Regions from separate parts of the Homo sapiens genome. Here region 2 is linked to region 1. Evidence: promoter capture Hi-C in 16 types of primary human blood cells and fetal thymus (Javierre and others, 2016). All regions are on one chromosome and are shown on one strand. Each heading gives the region's core, a stretch centred on a gene start or on the middle of the fragment in contact. The rest is flanking DNA. Distances are from core to core; before and after follow the strand shown.

Region 1 (4,528 bases), core at 1-2,500:
GACGGCCCTTGCAACGCGGAACGTTGGCAACTTGAAAACATAACTGAATTATTAAATACTGCAGTATTCAAATGACCTGCAGCGAGTGAAAACTCAGCAAACACCCTTGTTCCTTCTGAACAATGACCTAAATAGTGAATCACTATAAAAAGAACAGATGACACATTCAATTCATCTGTTCAACCTCAAATGTGCAAATGTCTGACAGTCCCAGAGATAAGACACAATGAATTCAATAGGACAGTATGGTCATTTTAAGTCATCAGAATGTCTGCAAAAGGAGTAAGGAGAAACAGAATCAGACAGAGGCGGAAAGAGTGGGGGAGGGCTTGTTTAGGGAGACTGAAAAGGACGGGCGTTAAGCCTGTAAAGCAGAAAAAGGCTACCAAGAAGCCTAACTGGTAGAGGAGAAAAAGAAGTTCGGGGATGATATTGACCAAATCCTCGACACTGGCACAGGAGGCGGGGAGTCCGGCAAGACCAGCCTTTGTTGATTTCCCACTTTCCCCGATTTTTAAGCACAGGTCTGCTTCAAAGCTCTCCCGCTGCCCCTAACCAATTTTAAGAGGTGAGAAGCGGGGTGTAACTGGGTGATGGGTACCAAAGGGAGTTCATTTCCCCAAATATTTCCTCCACCCAGGATATAAACCACTCTGAGAGGTAGGATGGGTGAGACAGACAGACGCCGGGATCTCTCGGAAATCAATCCCAATGGAGAAACGCTGGGTGGGTGCGCGCGGTGGGGGAGGGGGCCGGCTCCAGTTCCAAGTGCGGCCACTTACGAAGACGCGCTGGGCACGAAGAAATCCACGGCGAAGCCGAAGTAACTTCCCTCGGGGCCAGAGTACTCGGCAGGACTGTCCACGTCTAGGTTGAAGGCGCGGCACAGAGGTAGCAGGAGTCCCGAGAGAAGAAGCGGGAGGCCGCGGGGACCGAGGCGCAGCCGTCGCCGCGGCGGAAAAGCCATCGCCGAAGTGCGCGCGGGACGCCAAGCCGGGAGCGGTAGCCACCTCCCCCCGCCCCAGCGAGGCGCCCAGTGCCCGCGGCCCGCCGCCTGCGCGCGCCCAAACTTGCCGGCCGCTCTCTTCTCGGCTAGCCCGGGACAGCTCCGGGGCAGGCAAGAGGGCTGAGCTTCGGAGCGACCGCCAGGGACGAGGGGCGCAGAGCGCGCGGGGCGGGGACAGCAGCGCAGACGGTCCTTTGCTTCCCTCCGGCTCCGCCGCTCCACGCAGCGTCTGAGGCTGGGGACTGCCGGGGTGAGCGCCGCACCTCAGGCCTGAGAGCCGCGGCGGCACTGGGAGGAGACCTGGAAGGAGGAGGAGCCGGCCCGGGAGGCTGCTGTGGAGCTGGAGGAGGAAGTGGGGGAGGAGAGGCGCCCTTCTACAGGGGAGAGCTCAGCGTACTTCCGTGAGTGCAGTCGCCGCCTGTCCCGAGACCTGGGCGTCTGTGCAGGGGCCCCCAGCTCCTGAGCCTGGGTCAGCGGCAGCGCTCCTGGACGAAGGCCTCAGGCTGAGCACCTGAGGAGGCGTGGGGGCGGGGGCGGGGAGATACGGTCCAGCGTCCCAATCTACCCGCGTCCACGGGAGTAGCAAGGGCACCCACGTTCCCTTGTCCCGCCGGGAACTTCCGTGCGACTGTTGTTTAAAAATGAGGAAAGCTTTTTATCAGTTTCTCGTGTTTCTGCTGCTTAGCCTGGCAGGCTCTCACGAACGAAACCCTGTTAATTAATGGTCGTTAATTACACTCCATTCCACAAACACTGAACTTAATTACGGATTTCCAGAAAGCCAGCATAGCCTCTTGCAAGTGAGGTATGTAAAGCTTAACTTAGTAGTCAAAGAAAGGATTCGCAGGGCAAAGAATTGGCAGTGATCGTTTTAAATCAAGTCAGAATAATCGAAGCCTTATTCCCAGTTTGTTAGCTGCGGTTGTATGATTTAGAAACACTGATTTGTTGATTTAGGATGTTTGGATAGACATAATTTCAGAGCTGGAAGAAGGACCGCACACCGGTGAAATAAGGCCCCGCGTGCTTGTTTGCCACTGGTGTGTTTCATCAAGCCTTGACAACACTGGACTGAGAGAGAGGGCCTTGAGGACAGGAACCTTGACCTTTTTCTTAGTGTTCTTATTTCTAGCACCTTGCCAAGCAGATAGTAGTCGATCAATAAAATGTCCAATCAGTGAATGAATAGCAGACGAAATGAGCAAAGTGCCCAGAGAAGTGACTCTTCCATATTTCAAGTGTTTCATGTGCTACAGAATCTGTTGAACAAGGTGAAGTTTAAGTGCATTGTGTGGACTTACAACTTACAAGTAAGTACTGGAACAGTAATTTCTGTTTTCCCAAAGTAACTATTAAAACTCAATCATAATATACATTAATAACTATCAAATAATCCTGTGAAAGGATATGTATATAAATGAAAGTGAAATGCCTAATTCGAATTTGTAATATTTATTGGACCAGGTCCAGGTGCTCATGCTGGCAATCTCAGCACTTTGGGAGACTGAGGCAGGAGGATTGCTTGAGACCGGGAGTTCCAGGGGAACATAGGGAGACCTCATCTCTACAAAAATTTAAAAATTAGCTGGGAGTGTGGTGCATGCCTGTAGTCCCAGCTATGCCGGAGGCTAAGGCAGGTAGATAGATCGCTTAGGCTCAGGAGTTCCAGGTTATGATAAGTCATGAGCCTGCCACTGCACTCCAGCCTGAGTGACAGAACAAGACCCTGTGTTTAAAAAAAAAAAAGGCCGGGCGAGGTGGCTCATGCCTGTAGTCCTAGCACTTTGGGAGGCTGAGGCCGGCAAATTGCCTGAGCTCGGGAGTTCGAGACCAGCCTGGGCAACACAGTGAAATCCCGTCTCTACTAAAATACAAAAAATTAGCCGGGCGTGGCGGCATGCGCCTGCAGTCCCAGCTACTCAGGAGGCTGAGGCAGGAGAATTGCTTGAACCCGGAAGGCGGAGGCTGCAGTAAGCTGAGATGGTGCCACTGCACTCCAGCCTGGGCCACAGAGTGAGACTCCATCTCAAAAAAAAAATGCATTAAATATTTCCATTTTTAAATTTGACTAAAAGATATGCAGCAAAACCTTTGGCATGTTTTACAAGGCATGGTCTAGCATCTGCCTGAAAGAAATTACTGATTGAGAGAAGAAATCCTACACAAATCCTTACACATAAATGCAAATACAGCTTATTTCTCACCTTCTTTCCTAATACACCAAAGAGGCTATTGATATGTATGCATAAACCCAAAGGGTCTTTTATATCTTAAAAACATGACAACCAGTCTACCTGGAAATCCATCCAGGTAAGGAAGACAGAAGAGTTTAAACTCTGGCTAGATCCAGTAAGTCTCCCACTCCTCAACTTCTGATCGCAGGACAGGGGTCCGACAGACCAAGGTGGAGTGAAGAAATGTGAGAGGACCAGGGAAAAGAAGAAGCCCACGAAATGACAACACATGTACACCCACCAAAACTTGGGTGAACAACACACCCCCAAATAGGGCTACAACTTACTGAAAGCACTTACTGTTGAGCCATTCTTTATGAGTTTATTTTGAATGAGCAGTCTTGAAAATCAAGGAATTTGTTTTTTTTAAAAAAGCAAATAGTCCAGGCACTGTGGCTCATGCCTGTAATCCCAGCATTTTGGGAGGCCGAGGTGGGTGGATCACCTGAGGTCAGGAGTTCAAGACCAGCCTGGCCAACACAGTGAAACCCCGTCTCTACTAAAAATACAAAAATTGGCCGGGCGCAGTGGCTCACTCACACCTGTAATCCCAGCACTTTGGGAGTCCAAAGTGGGTGGATCACGATGTCAGGAGTTCAAGACCAGCCTGGCCAAGATGGTGAAAGCCTATCTCTACTAAAAATACAAAAATTAGCTGGGTGCAGTGGCAGGCACCTGTAATCCCAGCTACTTGGGAGGCTGAGGCAGGAGAATCACTTGAACCTGGGAAGCAGAGGTTTCAGTGAGCCAAGATCGTGCCACTGCACTTCAGCCTGGATGACAGAATGAGACTCCATCTCAAAAAAGAAAAAACAGTAGCCAGGCATGGTGGTGTGTGCCTGTAATCTCAGCTACTCAGGAGACTGAGGCAGGAGAATTGCTTGAACCCGGAAGGCAGAGGCTACAGTGAGCCGAGATATTGTGGTATTGTGGGCCACTGTGCTCCAGCCTGGGTGACAGAGCGAGACTGTCTAACAACAAAAAAAAGCAAACATACATTTCAATTAGGAAACTATGAAGCAGACTAACCCAGTGGCTTTAGAAACTTGGGGTTATAAATGCAGGCATCTCTTTGTGTGACCATGCTCGAGCAGCCACTCACACAGTGCCTTGCAAATTGTATTGTAGAACATGTCAATTCAGCTAGTGCTGATTCAAAATCCACATTGCACCTGGTACTATGTGCATGGGACAGAGAAAAGAATGTTTTAGTCTACGAAAGAATGGTGGTGCCCCTCCCCTACCCCCATGACACTACTCTTTGAACTACATTATAACAGTTTTCCAA
Region 2 (4,528 bases), core at 817-3,316, 2.9 Mb before region 1:
ATTTTACATTCCAAAGTATTAAGCTGGGTTTTAAAATGGAAAAAGAATATGAATGTTGGTCAGCTGAGTAGCTAAAAGCAACAAATCATCTGAGAGTTTTCAGAAATGCTATGATGGGCCTGCCATAATATTAGGGTAAAATCTCCTTTTCTGTAATACTGACACATTCTTCTCTTTATATCCCTTTAAAAAATATCTCCTTAAGGGTATTCTTTTTACTCAGAGTAAAAGCAAAAGTCCTTCCAATAGCCTACGATGCTAAATATAATCTATTCTCCACTGGCTCACTTCCACCGGCCTCCCTTCTCCAACACAGCTGCACAGCCCTTCTTCCTCTCATTTAGTATTTACTCCTCCTATGTTGCTCATTTCCCTCCCCTGCTTTATTTTTCTCTAGACCACCTTTCATCTTACTGTATCATATTAACTAATCCAGTCAGTTTACTACTGGGACTTAGAAGTGTTTTGTTTTGTGCAATCATAACAGTATTTAGCACACGGTGGGTGCTCAATTAGGTGTTGAATGACTATATGACACATAGTCAAGAAATAATACCATCAAAAATAACACGTAAATGAAAGGCTAATTTGTTTTTAAACCAGAGAAGTAACTGCAACATGATTTATTCAATTTTCTATCAGAGAGTCTGGTTTTGGGCTGTGGAACATAGATAACACAAAAAGGGTACACATATATGTATAATATATGTTTTTGTATTTGAGTATGAGAGGCCAGTGGTGCAGTAAGCAAGCCAGCTAGCACAGGGGATCTTTTCAAGCCTGACTGACATTTTTATGTAGCAGCTATCCAGATTTTCTTATGCTGGGTGCCCATTATATGCCAAGTACTGAAGATTAATAATAGATCTCATTATGAGAAGAATTTAGATTACAACACAAGATCTTTACTTTAGATCAGTCGTTTTCCATCCTGTCTTGCATATTAGACACAACTGAGAAATTTTTCAGTAAACTAGGCCCCAGCACACAGAATCTTATTAAGTTCTTCATGTGATTCTTATGTGTAGTCAGTGTTTAGAATCATGGGTAAAAAGTTTTGCTAGCAGCTATTGGCAACTACTTTTCCAAGTGAGGAATCATGGAGTGAGTACAGGAAGTTGTTACCAAATACGAGTGATGAGCAGAATCACCTGGGACGATATTAAAAATGCAGATTCCTAAAGTACATCCCAAACCTAGTGATCAACCACCTGTCAGGAAGATTAGGAACCTGAATTTTTCGTAAACATGTGAACTGTTATCAGAAATCCACGTATTCAACATACGAAACCGAACTTAAATATCAAAAAGAGTGCTATGTTTGAAGCAGTCATCTGGCAAGATGACTTAATTATTTTTAAGAACGTTGCCATCTCCAGAACATTTTTTGAAATGTCCTTTGGAGGTGGTTTAGTGATCCTCCCACCTCAGCCTCCTGAGTAGCTAGGACTGTAGCCACCACATCTAACTTACTTTTCTTTCTTTTTGTCTTTTTAGAGACAGGGCCATGGTATATGTTGCCTAGGCTGGTCTCAAACTCCTGACCTCAAGCAATCCTCCTGCCCTGGCCTCCCAAAGCACTGGGATTACAGTTGTCAGCCATCATGCCCGGCCCCACTATCATCTTAAAGCTGCTTCATATTCTTCATTCTGAACACAACTGTATTTTATGGAGGACACCATAGCATACAGTGGCATTCCTGAATGTGGGGATCAGAAAATTTCTATAGATGTGTCCTCATGTCAGTGTTCTGTTTTATCAAACTCTATGGTAAGGGACAATTATTTCTAATCACTGACAATATTCTAGGAATTCCTAAAATGCTGATGCACAGCAGTTTCAATGGACCAATGTTCTAAAGACAGTGAAAATGTAATTAATAATAACTTAGTCACATTATTGGTTCTTAATATCAACCAATTTTTTTTTTTTTTTTGGAGACAGAGTCTCACCCAGGCTGGAGTGCAGTGGCGCCATCTCAGCTCACTGCAAGCTCCACCTTCTGGATTCACGCCATTCTCCTGCCTCAGCCTCCCAAGTAGCTGGGACTACAGGTGCCTGCCACCATACCCGGCTAATTTTTTGTATTTTGTTTAGTAGAGACGGGGTTTCACCGTGTTAGCCAGGATGGTCTAGATCTCCTGACCTTGTGATCTGCCCACCTCGGCCTCCCATAGTGCTGGGATTACAGGCGTGAGCCACTGCGCCTGGCCAATATCAACCAATTTTCTATGCCATTTCCACCCTGACTTAAGAAAGTGAGAAGTGTTCAATGATAGATAAATGATAGTGATGCTTAATAACAGATTTAAGTTCAGTAGAAAGACAAAATTCTATCCACCTTTGTAAAGCAGATTTAAAATTTGAGGTCTGCAATCTACTATTACAACCACATAAAAAATAATCCCTCCCTCACTGCATATTTCAGAATTCATACAAACCATCTCCAAATGAGCACAATAATGACAAAAGCAATTTAAATGCCCATTCTAAAAACTGTTGGCTTCAGATTAAAACCAAAATGTTAAATTTTGAGGAACTGTAAAATGTAAAGAGCCACTCAATGCCATATATAGTAAGTTAATTATACCATACCTGGTTTTTCTTTATTCACTATAACAAAGACAGAATCCTCAGCTTGGGCAAGAGTAAAGAGGGCATGAAGTTTACATCCAACTATGAAAGTCTGAAAGATAAAGAGCACCATAGTGTTTACTGTCTGTTCCCTCCAGTGGAACATAAGATCCATCAAGGCAGGGGTTTTTATGTATTTTGCTCATTGCTGTATTCCCAACATAAGGAGAGTACCTGGCCTACAGAAGACAACTAATACATATTTGTTAAATACTCTTTCGAGTTTCCTACATATAGATCTGAAATGGTATTGTACTGAATGTATCATAATTTTAACTGACATCAAGGTCATATTTAACTTTTTTCCTACCATAAACAATGCTATAAGGACTTTGTGTACAGGCCATTATTCCGAGGTGAGACTGCTGTAGCAAAACGTGTTTATTGATTTTCAGTTTTAACTCTCATTGGGTAAAAAAGTGCCTGTTTCTCCATACTTTACCTATCACTAGATTTTTTTTCAATCTACAATTTGGCTAAATTTATGAGGGGAAATATTGTGTCATTTGTTTTAATTTAGATTTCTTTATTAATGAGTTTAAGCATCTCTTCATATTTATTGACTATTTGTATTTCTTTTCTGTGAATTTACATATTCCTACTTTATGCCAATTTCTTCTACCAGGCTATTAGTTTTTCCTTATTGGTTTTTGGGAAGATTTTTGTATATTTGGAATAATATCTTTTGTAAATATCTTCTTCCAGCTTTACCTTGTCTTTTATAAGTGGAAAATTTTTATATAGTCAAATTAATTTTTTTGATGTTATTTTGTAACTTGTTTAGGAAGTCTATTTAAATATTTGGCCTTATAGAAACAGTACATCTACCATTAAATTACATTGCCTTTTTTTATTCACATAACGAAAAGTAAAGATCAATCCACATACCTTTATTAAGATGCCATCTATATAGTCCCACAGTTTAATTGTGCCATCAAGGGAACAAGAATACAGCTAAAAGGGTAAAACAATACAAAATTGATTTAAAAAAAAGAAATTCATCAAGATATCAAATGAATAATTAAATGTTGATCAGGGGCATTTTCTATTCATTAATTCACTGTTAACCTTAAAGAGGTAGAGTCATTTATTTATATTGCTTCTGCAAAACAATCTTTTCACAGCTTTCTGCAAGAAGCAGATCCATCCATTTCAAGTTTTAACTAAAAGAGAGAGGAAAAAAGCCAACTTTCTGTCTTGAAGAGGGAGATGGTAAGGTTTTGAATGAGATATGAAAAGCACCAAGGTGCAGTGGCTGCCACCTGTAATCTCAGCACTTTGGGAGGCCCAGGTGGGTGCATCACTTGAGGCCAGGAGTTCGAGACCAGCCTGGCCAACATGACGAAACCCCTACAAAAATTAGCCAGGCGTGGTGGCACATCCCTGTAATCCTAGCTACTTGGGAGGCTGAGGTTGCAGTGAGCTGAGATCAATCACATCGCTGTACTCCAGCCTGGGAGACAGAGTGAGACTCTCCAGAAAAAAAAACCAAAACCAAACAAAACAAAACAAAAACACCCACACAAGAGCTTGTTGCTCTTCCTGCCAGAACTCAGCTTACTCAGTTTTATTAGCCAAACTCCTTTTACCTTATATGAGCATTAAGGGAGTGCTTCTCAAGTGACTGAAGAATATTCTGCTTAAAAAAATTTCTTCCAATCCATCAAGGACCAATACTTTCATAAAATACAATAGAAATTATAATATGCTTGGATGCTGAGGCAATGTCAAAGTGTTTTGTGACACTCACATTCTGTACTCTTATACAGAATGGTAACTAATGGTTTAGGACACTGGTCTGTGGACCATACTTTGGTAGCACCAGAAGACCTTACTAACACATAGGCTTACTTTTGTCCCAGTGTACTTAGTTTTATTAATACTAAGTTTCTG

Evidence for each region. The method cuts DNA at HindIII sites, captures the fragments that hold promoters and counts their contacts. A CHiCAGO score of 5 or more calls a contact.
Region 2: a fragment that was not itself captured here is called in contact with the fragment with the promoter of ITGAV in region 1 in 1 of 17 cell types (non-activated CD4 T cells); the score reaches 5.9 in non-activated CD4 T cells.

Annotation. Positions count from the first base shown.
Region 1 is chr2:186,586,778-186,591,305 of GRCh38, reverse strand. It overlaps ITGAV (integrin subunit alpha V), which reads right to left and starts at 1,250. Exons shown (of 30, transcript NM_002210.5): 1 at 783-1,250. The coding sequence starts at 967. LOC124906105 (a long non-coding RNA gene) reads left to right here and starts at 1,410. Exons shown (of 2, transcript XR_007087465.1): 1 at 1,410-2,316. RefSeq lists an enhancer at 768-827 and a silencer at 958-1,187. The HindIII fragment of the contact is 2,158 bases long and covers 1-1,659 here.
Region 2 is chr2:189,449,964-189,454,491 of GRCh38, reverse strand. WDR75 (WD repeat domain 75) reads right to left here. Exons shown (of 21, transcript NM_032168.3): 3 at 3,524-3,589; 4 at 2,597-2,687. Among named protein-coding and RNA genes, the nearest start is that of WDR75, 11 kb to the right of the region's middle. The HindIII fragment of the contact is 5,723 bases long and covers 1-4,528 here.